2 separate regions of the Homo sapiens genome follow, and region 1 is linked to region 2. The links are contacts of gene promoters, found by promoter capture Hi-C in blood cells and fetal thymus (Javierre and others, 2016). All regions are on one chromosome and are shown on one strand. Each heading gives the region's core, a stretch centred on a gene start or on the middle of the fragment in contact. The rest is flanking DNA. Distances are from core to core; before and after follow the strand shown. Region 1 holds the start of IL4 (interleukin 4). Region 2 holds the start of FSTL4-AS1 (FSTL4 antisense RNA 1).

Region 1 (5,969 bases), core at 1,486-3,985, 580 kb before region 2:
ACAGACAGACAAATACCACATGATCTCACGCATATGTGAAATATAAAAAAGCCAAACTCAGGGAGGCAGAGAGTAGGATGATGGTCACCAGGGGCTGGGAGGGTGGTGATCAGGAAGATGTTGGTCAAAGGATATAAAATTTCAACTGGGAGGAGTTAAGTTAAAGAGAGCCATTGTACGACATGGTGACAACAGTTGATATCAATGTCTTGTATACTTAAAAATCATGAAGACAGGCCAGGCGCAGTGGCTCACACCTGTAATCCCAGCACTTTGCAGGGGCTGAGGTGGGTAGATCACCTGAGGTCAGGAGTTCGAGACCAGCCTGGCCAACATGGTAAAACCCTGTCTCTATTAAAAATACAAAAATTAGCTGGGCGTGGTGGCAGGCACCTGTAATCCCAGCTACTCGGGAGGCTGAGGCAGGAGAATTGCTTGAGCTCAGGAGGCAGAGGTTGCAGTGAGCTGAGACTGCGCCATTGCACTCCAGTCTGGGCAACAGAGCAAGACTCTATCTCAAAATAAATAAATAAATCACAGAGTAGATTTTAAATGTTCTTACCAAAAATAAATATGTGAAGTATTGTATAAGTAGCTTGATGTAGCAATTCCATAACATGCACATTTCAAAACATTATATCATACAGCACAAATATGTGCAATACTTATTTGTCAATTTAATAATAATAATAATAAGGGAAGAAAAGATCCAAAACAGAGGCAAAACCTTGGCCGGGCATGGTGGTTCACGCCTATAATCCCAGCACTTTGGGAGGCTGAGGTGGGTGGATCATTTTGAGGCCAGGAGTTCGACACCAGCCTAGCCAACATGGTGAAACCCCATCTCTACTAAAAAAAAAAAAAAAATACAGAAATTAGCCAGGCGTGGTGGCATGTGCCTGTAATCCCAGCTACTCGGGAAGCTGAGGCTGGAGAATGCCTTGAGCCCAGGAGATCAAGGCTACAGTAAGCTATGATCACCACTGCACTCCAGCCTGGGTGACAGAGTATGGGGGCAGGGGGTGGTGAGGGGGGGGCGGGGAAGTGGAACAGAGGCAAAACCTTAGCAACACACATTTTTAGATGATCTTCCAGAATAAATTCATAGGGAGGCCCAGGCACAGTGGCTCACGCCTGTAATCCCAGCACTTTGGGAGGCCGAGGCAGGCGGATCACGAGGTCAGGAGATGGAGACCATCCTGGCTAACACGGTGAAACCCCGTCTCTACTAAAAATACAAAAAATTAGCCGGGCGTGGTGGCAGGTGCCTGTAGTCCCAGCTACTCGGGGAGGCTGAGGCAGGAGAACGGCATGAACCCAGGAGGCGGAGCTTGCAGTGAACTAAGATCACGCCACTGCACTCCAGCCTGGGTGACAGAGCAAGATTCCATCTCAAAAAAAAAAAAAAAAAAAAGAAATTCATAGGGAAAAGAAGGTCAGAGACCAAGGGAAGGGAAGGTTCTGGGAGAAAAGCAGGGGGCAGGCAGGGCCCAAGAATCCTGCTGCCCATGAGCCCTTACTGGGAGGTGGGGTGGCCTTGCACAGGGCCCAGGCACCTGAGTGAGTGGTGGGGTCCTTACGTTCACTGCTGGGGTGAGGCAATGAGCACCTTATTGTGTCCACATGAATTCAATAAAAAACAAGCAGGGCGGGTGGTGGGGCACTGACTAGGAGGGCTGATTTGTAAGTTGGTAAGACTGTAGCTCTTTTTCCTAATTAGCTGAGGATGTGTTTAGGTTCCATTCAAAAAGTGGGCATTCCTGGCCAGGCATGGTGGCTCACACCTGTAATCTCAGAGCTTTGGGAGACTGAGGTAGGAGGATCACTTGAGCCCAGGAATTTGAGATGAGCCTAGGCAACATAGTGAGACTCTTATCTCTATCAAAAAATAAAAATAAAAATGAGCCAGGCATGGTGCGGTGGCACGCACCTACTGCTAGGGGGGCTGAGGTGGGAGGATCACTTGAGCCTGGGAGGTTGAGGCTGCAGTGATCCCTGATCACAACATTGCATTTCAGCCTGGGTGACAGAGTGAGACCCTGTCTCAGAAAAAAAAAAAAAAAAGTCATTCCTGAAACCTCAGAATAGACCTACCTTGCCAAGGGCTTCCTTATGGGTAAGGACCTTATGGACCTGCTGGGACCCAAACTAGGCCTCACCTGATACGACCTGTCCTTCTCAAAACACCTAAACTTGGGAGAACATTGTCCCCCAGTGCTGGGGTAGGAGAGTCTGCCTGTTATTCTGCCTCTATGCAGAGAAGGAGCCCCAGATCAGCTTTTCCATGACAGGACAGTTTCCAAGATGCCACCTGTACTTGGAAGAAGCCAGGTTAAAATACTTTTCAAGTAAAACTTTCTTGATATTACTCTATCTTTCCCCAGGAGGACTGCATTACAACAAATTCGGACACCTGTGGCCTCTCCCTTCTATGCAAAGCAAAAAGCCAGCAGCAGCCCCAAGCTGATAAGATTAATCTAAAGAGCAAATTATGGTGTAATTTCCTATGCTGAAACTTTGTAGTTAATTTTTTAAAAAGGTTTCATTTTCCTATTGGTCTGATTTCACAGGAACATTTTACCTGTTTGTGAGGCATTTTTTCTCCTGGAAGAGAGGTGCTGATTGGCCCCAAGTGACTGACAATCTGGTGTAACGAAAATTTCCAATGTAAACTCATTTTCCCTCGGTTTCAGCAATTTTAAATCTATATATAGAGATATCTTTGTCAGCATTGCATCGTTAGCTTCTCCTGATAAACTAATTGCCTCACATTGTCACTGCAAATCGACACCTATTAATGGGTCTCACCTCCCAACTGCTTCCCCCTCTGTTCTTCCTGCTAGCATGTGCCGGCAACTTTGTCCACGGACACAAGTGCGATATCACCTTACAGGAGATCATCAAAACTTTGAACAGCCTCACAGAGCAGAAGGTGAGTACCTATCTGGCACCATCTCTCCAGATGTTCTGGTGATGCTCTCAGTATTTCTAGGCATGAAAACGTTAACAGCTGCTAGAGAAGTTGGAACTGGTGGTTGGTGGCAGTCCAGGGCACACAGCGAGGCTTCTCCCCTGCCACTCTTTTTTCTGAGGGTTTGTAGGAAGTTTCCTCAGTTGGAGGGAGTGAGAGCTGCTCATCAAGGACTTCTCTGTCCGGTTGGAGGTTAACTCTGTCTCTTGCTCTCTCATTTCTGCCTGGACCAAGACTCTGTGCACCGAGTTGACCGTAACAGACATCTTTGCTGCCTCCAAGGTAAGAAGCCGTCCCACGGTCTGTTTTAGCAAATGGGGAGATCCATCCCCAAATGTCTGAACAAGAAACTTGTCTAATGGAAAACGAGCGGGCCCAAATTAACTCTAAGGTGTTAGATGTTTTCAAAGAACGAGAAGTCTGATCTTTACTCTTAAGCATGTTTTGGTCTTTCTGGTTTCACTTGATTTAGAAGACATGTAATAGAAAGCTTACATGCTGTAGTCCTGACTCAGATCCTGGTCAAAGAAAAGCCCTCTTGGGTTTTACTTAGCTTTGGCATAGTGCCTGGAACGTAGGAGGCACTCAATAAATGCCTGTTGAATGAGAGAATTTTTCTGGCCCATACATTTCTGAAAAACCAAATACTCTCACAGAAACAGATATTGAGATGACAGGTTGAGGGAGCTTTCATTTTGTCTAAGAGACTTCCTATGGCAACAGAAAAGGTATCGCCAGAGCCCCTCCTCTTCCACAGCCTGGCCACCTAACAGCCCTCTGGGTTCCGGGGCTGGCCGTCCAGAGCTCCTCAGCTTGCTCTGGCCGGCCGAACTCCCCTCCAGCTCGGTCTGGAACCATCCTGCTGGGCAGCGTCCAGCACATCCCTGCTTCGGGCTGCCTGGGCACCTCGCCTCTCTGCCTCCTGTGCTGCCTCACCCCCACCCCTCTATCTGTAGTGGGAGGAGATAGATTTGACAGCTGATAGTGCATTTTCTCTGACAAACACATGACTACAGCCGTATCAATAGTTTTGTGCATTTCAGTTCCTGTTTTCATGGAAACACACGGCTGAGAATGAAAGCCCCAAAGCCTCAATTTCACAGTGGTCTCCTAACTACCTGCTTTCCATGCAAACTAGGGAGATGATATGGCCAGGAGTGAAGCCCTGTGTGTTGGGCAGGGTCACACTCCAGCACCCAGACCATAGAACAGGGCCCATCCTGCTTCATGAGGGAAACTGCTCTTCGGGCCTTTAGCTGGACTATCTCATTTCATTAGTTATCCCGGGAGTCCGATACAGGATGAGATTCTGAAGGGCAAATACACACTTTTTTTTTTTTTTGAGATAGGGTCTTGTTCTGTCACCCAGGCTGGAGTGCAGTGGTGCGATTTCAGCTCATAGCAGCCTCCACCTCCCAGGCTCAAGCTATCTTCCTACCTCAGCCTCCCAAGTAGCCGGGACGACAGGTGTGCACCACCACGCCTGGCTAATTTTTGTATTTTTTTGTAGAGATGGAGTCTTGCCATTTTGCCCAGGCTTGTCTCGAACTTCTGGGCTCAAGCAATCCGTCCACCTCGGCCTCTCAAAGTGCTGGGATTAGCCACTGCACCTGGGCAACAGTTTATGTGTGTGTGTGTGTGTGTGTGTGTGTGTATATATGTGTGTGTGTATATATATGTGTGTATGTATATATGTGTATGTATATGTGTGTGTGTGTGTGTGTGTGTGTGTATAAAATCTCCAAGTCCATCCAACCGAGATGGCTCCTACTAGAAGCCAAGAGTCCACCGGGTTGAGCACTGGGTCTCTGGAGGCCTGTGGCACTGCTGAGAAGGCTCTAACAAAGCCAAGGGAAGGGCCACCTCACTAGAAGCCAGGCCTGGAGGAAGGGTGAGGGCTGAGGGCCTGGAGGTAAGACTGCCTGTGGTTTTAGACCCAGCTCTGCCACTGACTAGCTGTGTGGCTGGCCTTCAGCACATCTTCACACCTCTCTGCACCTCAGTTTCCACATGTGAAGATATGAAAGTGATTCTGAAGGTGATTGCAAGGTTGATTGGAATCCAGCTCTTGAGTTAGTGCAAAGTGTTATTGTGAGATGATATAACCACGATTAAAAGCAAGAACAGGTGCAGAGAAGCGATGATTCTAAGAAGGAGGGGACCGGGTTGGAAAGGATCAAACCATCCAGGATGCCGAGTCTGGGGCAATCCATCTGGGCTGTTTCTGGAAGACCCCCGGGTGCAGGCCAGGACACTGCTGCCCTCCCGTCCTTAACTCCCCTCTTCACTCAGTCCTCACTCACCTCCCTCTCACACACACAAACATCTCCTAGAATAATCCCCACTGCCTGCCTTCACTCTTACCCGTCTCATTTGCCTCCCCTGAACTTCATCCTCCTGGAGTTCACGATCTCACTCTTCACTCTTTTCTTCCCCTCGAAGATTCAGCACTGCTTACTTACATGTTAAGATATTTCAGAACAGTGAAATGTTGCTATTTTCAAAAACCTACAAAGGTGGTATGCAGAGGAAAAGGTACTTCTTTGTGTTCCCAAAGAAAACATCTTTCCAAAATCCAGCCTATTGATTTTATTTCTTCGGGGGAACAAGAATTTTAGTATCTCTAAGTTGGGTAGCATTCTACTCTTGGCAGTTGCTGGAAAGAAGGCACTGGTCTAGGTCCTGGGCTTCACAGGTAACACCTGTCAGGGTGTCTATGAAGTCAAGGCTGTCTGAGGAACAGCAAAGTGGGAAGAAGCAAGCTGGCTGGCTGATGAAGGGTTTCTTGGGTGGACAAGTAGTTGGAGCTATTTCCTATTTACCAAAGAGAGCTAAAGTTCATAATTCTACAGAGAGTTCCATAATGAACCTCAAATACCTCTGTTTTTTGAAGGAGTTTCTCATATACAGCACTAGCTGACTATCCTGGGCAGGATGGGAGATAATGAATGCAGTGCCAATCGGGCTGGATTTATATGGTCCTCAGTGAGGCTGGTCA
Region 2 (6,287 bases), core at 2,992-5,491:
GTGAGGCTTGTAAAGTCAGGTTAGTTACAAAAGGAATCAGATTTTCCCTGCACGTCTGATCTGTGGTCAGACTAGAAGGAAAAGACCAATTGGGCCATCGGGGAGGGGCTCTTGGAGGCAGCAGCAGGGCTTCCCCTGGGCCCTAGAGATCCGCTTCTCAGGTGCGGCTCCCCAGCCACCTGTATCATATCTCTGGGGGTGGGTAATTAAAACACAGATTCTTGCCCCTCTGCCTCAGGCTGATGCAGATGCTCTGGTGGGCTGGATGGACATCCAGATTTTAACAAGTGGGCTGGGTGGACATCCAGATTTTAACAAGCATCCCAAGGGGTTCTATGATGGCCTGAGAACCACTGTGTTACAAGATGAGAAGGGCTCTGGGTACATAGAGAGGGGGAATGCAGGTGGGAGACAGGGAGACGAGGCAGGTCTGGTAGGCTGGGGTTTCCTGGGGCTCTAGATACAAGGCTAGGAGCATGGCCCCTCATTTGGAACATAGGACTGATGTGAAAGGTAGGATCCCTTCCTCCATGTGGCCCCAAAGTCATATATTCCAAGCGGCTCTAGAGAAAGGTCTGCAGGAGCCTCAAACATGGGGCTAATAGGAAACAAAAATCCAAGTGGGAGACGGAAGTCTTCTGTGTCCCTCCGGTCCTCTGCTGGCTGGGATAACTGGCTGCTGCATCCTCCCTGAGTTATTCCCAGCCATTTGCATGTAGAAGATGTGCACTTTGCGCAGGAAAAACTCGTGCAAAATTAGAATGTGTGAATACTGATAGAACCATCGTAGTTCTGCTCCTGTCAGCTACATGAATATTAACCAAACAGCAAATATTTGGATCACTTAAAATTTAATTAAATGAATGTTTTATTGGATTTAATTTGTGTCAATATTCCCCAGCTCCTTTCACAGTTCTGAAGGGATTTATGGCTACTGAGCCCTCTCCTTCCACCCTCACTCCCCGTTATTTCCTGGTCAACAAGCCTCCCCCTGGCGGGTCCTCCTTCCTTGCTAAATGGAAAGAGTAGGACTAAGTGGCTTCCCAGGGTGACTTCCAGGGAGAGTAAAAAATGAGACAGCATCATGTGCTAGGCCCCGAGTGAGCAGGGCAGGCCACCTGGCCCCCAGGCCTGGCTCTGCTGCTGACAAGCTCAGTGGCCTTGGCAGCTCCCTTCCTGTCACTGGGCCTCAGTTTAGACATGGATACAATGAGGGCTTGGGCCCCCCTCGCTTTTGACTCGGAGCCGATTATTCTATGTTCATGCCCCTGGAGACCCCCTGAGTCTTGCAAGTGCTCCCACTGCATCTTTTCTTGCCCCTAAGTGTCATCTGCCCCTGTTCTTTGCCCACTTACCCATGATGGTAAAAGTGACGCCTCAAGTGGCAGCACCAATGGGTGCCAAGTCCCACTAAGGCTTCCCTCCCGATACCCTTTGAGGACTCCCCTGCCCCATCCCAGGCCCCCTATAGCCTCCTTCATGGTCACCCCTCCAGTTTGCCCCTGCTGCCTGCAACTGTCTTGTTGCCACTGGCAGAACAAGGTACATCTCAGCCCTGCTCAACAGCTGTCAATGGCTCCCTATTACCCACAGATCACCACATAGAATCCAGAAGAGTCCCCAGTCTTGACCCTGCTGTGTCTCCAACATTATTTACCACTGTGCCAGCTGGCTCCCCATGGCATTTGTGTCTTCAGACCTCAGCGTGGGCCTGCTTGGCACCTGCTGCTCATCCATTCTGAGCTCCTCACACTATTGGCCCCTACCTCCAAGATGACCTCATGGGATGTTTCTGGGACCCTGAAGTTTTAATGTAAAGAAACACTTGGACAGATATTAGGTGAAGAAGATTGAAAGAGACTGTCCTGGTGAATTTATCAGAACTTTTTCAGGCTTAGTAACAGAAACACTCAGAAATGCTCAACTATTAATAGCTTAGGGGGAAAAAGGTGGTTTAGTTCCCACAATGGGAAATCTAAGGGAGGTGGAAGAGGTTGCAGGCATCCAGGGCCTTCGACAGTGGCATTCTCTACTTGGTTGCAAGATGTCCATTGGTGGCCCCACACTCACATTGTTTCTGTATGTGGGATCCCAGAGGAAGGGAACAAATCTTGCCTGAGAGCCCTGGAAAAAGCATGGGGGAGCTCTGATTGGCCACATACAGCTCCTGTGTTCTTCCCTGAAGCAAACACTGAGGGCAAGAGGACTGAGTATTGTGCAGGTGTGGGACTGATTGGCCCATCAGGCCTGGGCCGTGTGGCCACCTCCAGGGGCAGGGACTAGGTGTTTGGGCTGGGGTAAAATGGCTAATGGAAAGGGTATATTGGGCAGATTGACACCCTATGACCATCATAGGGATGCAGAGAGGGCCCCCTCCCTTCCCCCTATCTGCATCACAACTGCATCGGGAAGCCTGGGCATCGTGCGTGATCAGGGCAGATAGCCGCAGTCATACAGTGAAGACGGTAAGAATCGTCAGAACTGAAACCTGATTTAGGCTACTACAGTCTTGCCTCCACCCTGCGCCTTCTCTGGAGAGTGATGGGGGCAGCTTTCACAGGGAGGAGATGTGGCCCAACTAAGCAAACCCCATCATCCTGTTGAGCCTCACATCCTGATGGCGAGGGTCTGGAATTTGTGGAGATGGCCTTCTGTGTTCAGTGATCACACATCTCCTGAACCTCACCTGCGCTGGCCACATCTGCAGGGCTGTGGACCAGTTAAGCCCCAGGCCTGGTCTCTGCTCTGGTGGGGAGCCAGGCCACATGAGAGGAAGATGAAGATGCCACATGCAGCCCTCTAGGGGGCAACGAGTGGTCCTTCTGGCTCCTGGCTGTGGCTCCAATGCCCCTGTGTTGACTGACCATCTGTGGGCTCATTAGCCACTATGTGGGAAGGTTTCCAAGGTCCCTGGACGACCAAACGTGATATGCCCAGCACTCAGAGTGTGATCAGGGGTCAGTGAGAGAGGGCTCAGCCAGACGCTGTGTCTGGGGTGAGAATGTGTCTACACACTGAGGCTGGTGTCTTTGGAAAGAGAGGGCTGGGTTGGGGGTCAGAGCAGCCCATCAGGGAGCTTGTCTGGCACTACTGGGCAGAAGTCTGTGCCCACAGAGGGACTGACGCCCTGCTATGAGAACTGACATTGGAGAGCTGCTCTGCAAGTAGGGAATCTGAGGAGGGCAAGGGAGTTGGGGGGTTCTCAAAGCTCAGGGCTTCCCATGATATCCCCCTGGGATGAAAACAAATGGGTCACACTGCAGTGATGGCCCAAGTCAGTGTGGGTTGGTTGGCACAAGACAGAGCTTCCTGGACCACTAGCTAGGCTGCGTGTCCCACAGTGGGATTCTGGGCAGGGCTGTCTGGCACTCTGGTGCCTAGCACAAGGCATGGCACACAGTAGGTGGGCTCAAGGCCATGACCTATCTCTCTAGGCCCTTCAAACCAGTGCAGTAGCATACCCTTGGTTTTCCAGACATGAGATGCCACAAACACCCGTCCTCACCTTTCTCCCTGAGTCTTGGAGCTTGGAGAGAAGAGGCAGTCACAGGGAATTAATGGGCTTACCATAAGCAGGCTAACAAACACCCTTCCTGAAAGCAGGAGGCCATAACATTTCAGTTGTTGGAGAACTGGGTTTTAGTTCCTATTACAGGTTTCCCTTAATCTCAGGCGCTATTTCTCACACTGACTTGAACTCGATAAGACACTCATAAACCCATCAGCACCCTCTCAAACAGGATTCTGGTGCTTTGTAGTGATAGAAATTAAATTTCTCAAATTCTTGTCAAGCTGGTGTTAGTTTTCTTATGTCAGAAACACACTAATGGAACACATTCCTACTTGGATATTTGCCATTTTTCAAATGATGCCATTGGTGAAAAAAACCCTGTCAAAAGCTCAGTAACCTGCCTGCACATCAATATTTTTGACTGAGCCTCGGAGGGCAAACTCAGGCTCAGGGGCCTGCTTGGGAATGAGGGCAATTTGGAGAGAGCACAGGCCAGGCGCTTAGACACATCTCTCTAACTGCGGCCTCTTCCCACATTATTCTCCTTCTAAATTAATGTGCTTTCCTGAAACAAACCCCTCAGGTGACCTAGGTGCCACCAAAGAAGCTGGGGCATTGGAGTGACAAAGTCTATTGATCTGGTCCCATCCCTGTGACCAGAGTCACACTGTGAAGTTGGCGAGTAGGGGAGGAGCCAAGGGGGAGTGCGCATGCCCAGTGTCTCCTGAACAAACAGGGCAACATCTCCCGGACCTTGTGACTTTGGCTGGTGTTTACAGAGTGAAGCTGCTTTGGCGTATCCTGGTGAGCCGGGCAAGGCGGGTGGGAGGGATGGTGTGCTTTTTGTCTCCTCTGTTCCGTCTACCAGAGATTGTCACTCTGGGATCCTTTCAAATAACTGCTGAATGTTTGTGGATGGGAGGCTGGGGACAGGATGTCTTAAAGCCTTTCATCTTGACATTCCTGTTTAGAGCACCAGGGTGCATCCAGCCTGCACAGGTGGCTCTGTATTAGCCAGACTTGCTCCAAAGCCACACAAGAGAGCACTTGCATCTGTCCCAAATCTCCTGTTTCCTTACGTGTAACCAGATTCAATCTTCCTGCCATTGTCATTCCCTCTTGCTTGCTTCATTTTGGGGATGGCAATAAAATTACTAGTTAATTACCTGCGGGTCAGTGGGTAATTTACTTTTTCAACTGGCCTATGTTGCTTGATGTTGCTTCAACTTTTATTACAGTTTAGTTATCAAGTTCTGCTCTCTGGTGTGAACAAACACCTTTGTAAGCTGCATAAAGGCAGAGACTATATCTGTTTTATTTATGTTGTATCCCCAGCACCTAATACAATGCCTACCACGCAGAAGGGACTTAATAAGCAGTTTTAAGCAAGTGAACTATTAGGCTAGTGCTCAGTCAACAATTATTTATGGAGCTGGTACCAGGAGCCAGGATACAGTGGGAATATACTGGCAAGAAAAACAGGCCCAGTGCTTGCTAACCTGGAGCTCATGGCTTAGCAGAGAAGACAAGTGTTAAGTGGGGAGGGAGAGCAGAGGCCTGAACCTGTCTACAGACCCCAGGTTAAGGGCCCGTGACTCCTGTAAAGCCTGGTTGCCCTCTTTCTTGGTAGAGCCCTCCCTGTGTGCCTGGCAGACCTGTGTCCTGCTATCGAGACATCCTAGTCTGATGTAGTATCCTCCTTGTTTGCAGGAGGGGCCGGCCTGTGCAGGGGCAGGGTTACCTGGGCATCCCTCTAGGCTCTGGGGTTCCATTTAGCCTCCTCTGGCCAATACACCTTTTTAGTTTTGAGAAAACTAAACCTCAATGTGACTGCTGTGTGCAGACGAACAGGAAGTTAGAGCAGAACTCAGTGCCCAGGGGCTGTGAGATCACCATTCTGGGTATCATGGGGTGCCACAGTGTGGCAGGCAGGAGAGGCATCCATCAGAAGGAGCAAAGGGTCCTTGCTGAGGTGGAGAGCACAGGGCCTCCTGGTCAGCAGGAGCATGGCTGTCACAGTGCTGCATACCAGCTCTTCCACCTCCGCTGGTTCCTGTGTGTGGGGTAGCCTTGGTCAGCTTGGCCACTCTATGGGTCTCTCCCACCCTACTGAGTCTACACCCAAAGATGATGGGCATACCTCTGCTCAAGATATTTGCAAAAGGAGAGTATCCTAACTGCCTATTACTTTGGTGTCTTAAGGGGGAAAAGAATGTATTACCTTATGTAATTATACAGAGCTACTCAGAATTTACAAAAATTCATACAGATCTCTAAGGTTGGATCCAGAATCTCCTGAGCAAGTCAGTGGAGAAGAGCAAACAGTTTTTACCTAACTAGCAAGAGGGGGCCATGCTGTGTGTTTCCAAATGCCAGCTCATCTTCCAATTCCTGTGCACTCATTATGACTATTTCGTGGCCTCTCTTGGAGCCAGAATGGGGCCATGTCATTGGGTTTGACATGGTAGGTGATAGGAGGTGACCAAGCCTGGCCACACAACCTCTGTGTCATTGTCTTGGTTAGTTTTATGTGTTACCTTGACTGGGCCACAAGGCACCCAGATATTTGTTCGAGCATTATCCTGGGTGTGTCTGTGAGGGTGTTTCTGGATGAGATTGACATTTGAATCAGTAGACTGAGTAGAGAAGATTGCCCTCCCCAATGAGGGCAGGCCTCATCCAATTCGTTGAAGACCTAGATAGAAAAAATGAGCCTGGGTAAGAGGGAAACCCTCCTGTCTCACTGCTGAGCTGTGACATTGGTCTTTTTCCTGCT

Evidence for each region. Contacts are between HindIII fragments. The CHiCAGO score rates a contact against its expected background, and 5 or more counts as called.
Region 1: the fragment with the promoter of IL4 here is called in contact with the fragment with the promoter of FSTL4-AS1 in region 2 in 5 of 17 cell types (neutrophils, naive B cells, M1 macrophages and 2 more); the score reaches 8.3 in neutrophils.

Annotation. Positions count from the first base shown.
Region 1 is chr5:132,671,254-132,677,222 of GRCh38, forward strand. IL4 (interleukin 4) reads left to right here and starts at 2,736. Exons shown (of 4, transcript NM_000589.4): 1 at 2,736-2,932; 2 at 3,206-3,253. The coding sequence starts at 2,798. The HindIII fragment of the contact is 7,466 bases long and covers 1-3,459 here.
Region 2 is chr5:133,252,204-133,258,490 of GRCh38, forward strand. It overlaps FSTL4-AS1 (FSTL4 antisense RNA 1), which reads left to right and starts at 4,242. Exons shown (of 2, transcript XR_007058939.1): 1 at 4,242-4,315. The region is part of intron 6 of FSTL4 (follistatin like 4); the gene reads right to left. The HindIII fragment of the contact is 11,288 bases long and covers 1-6,287 here.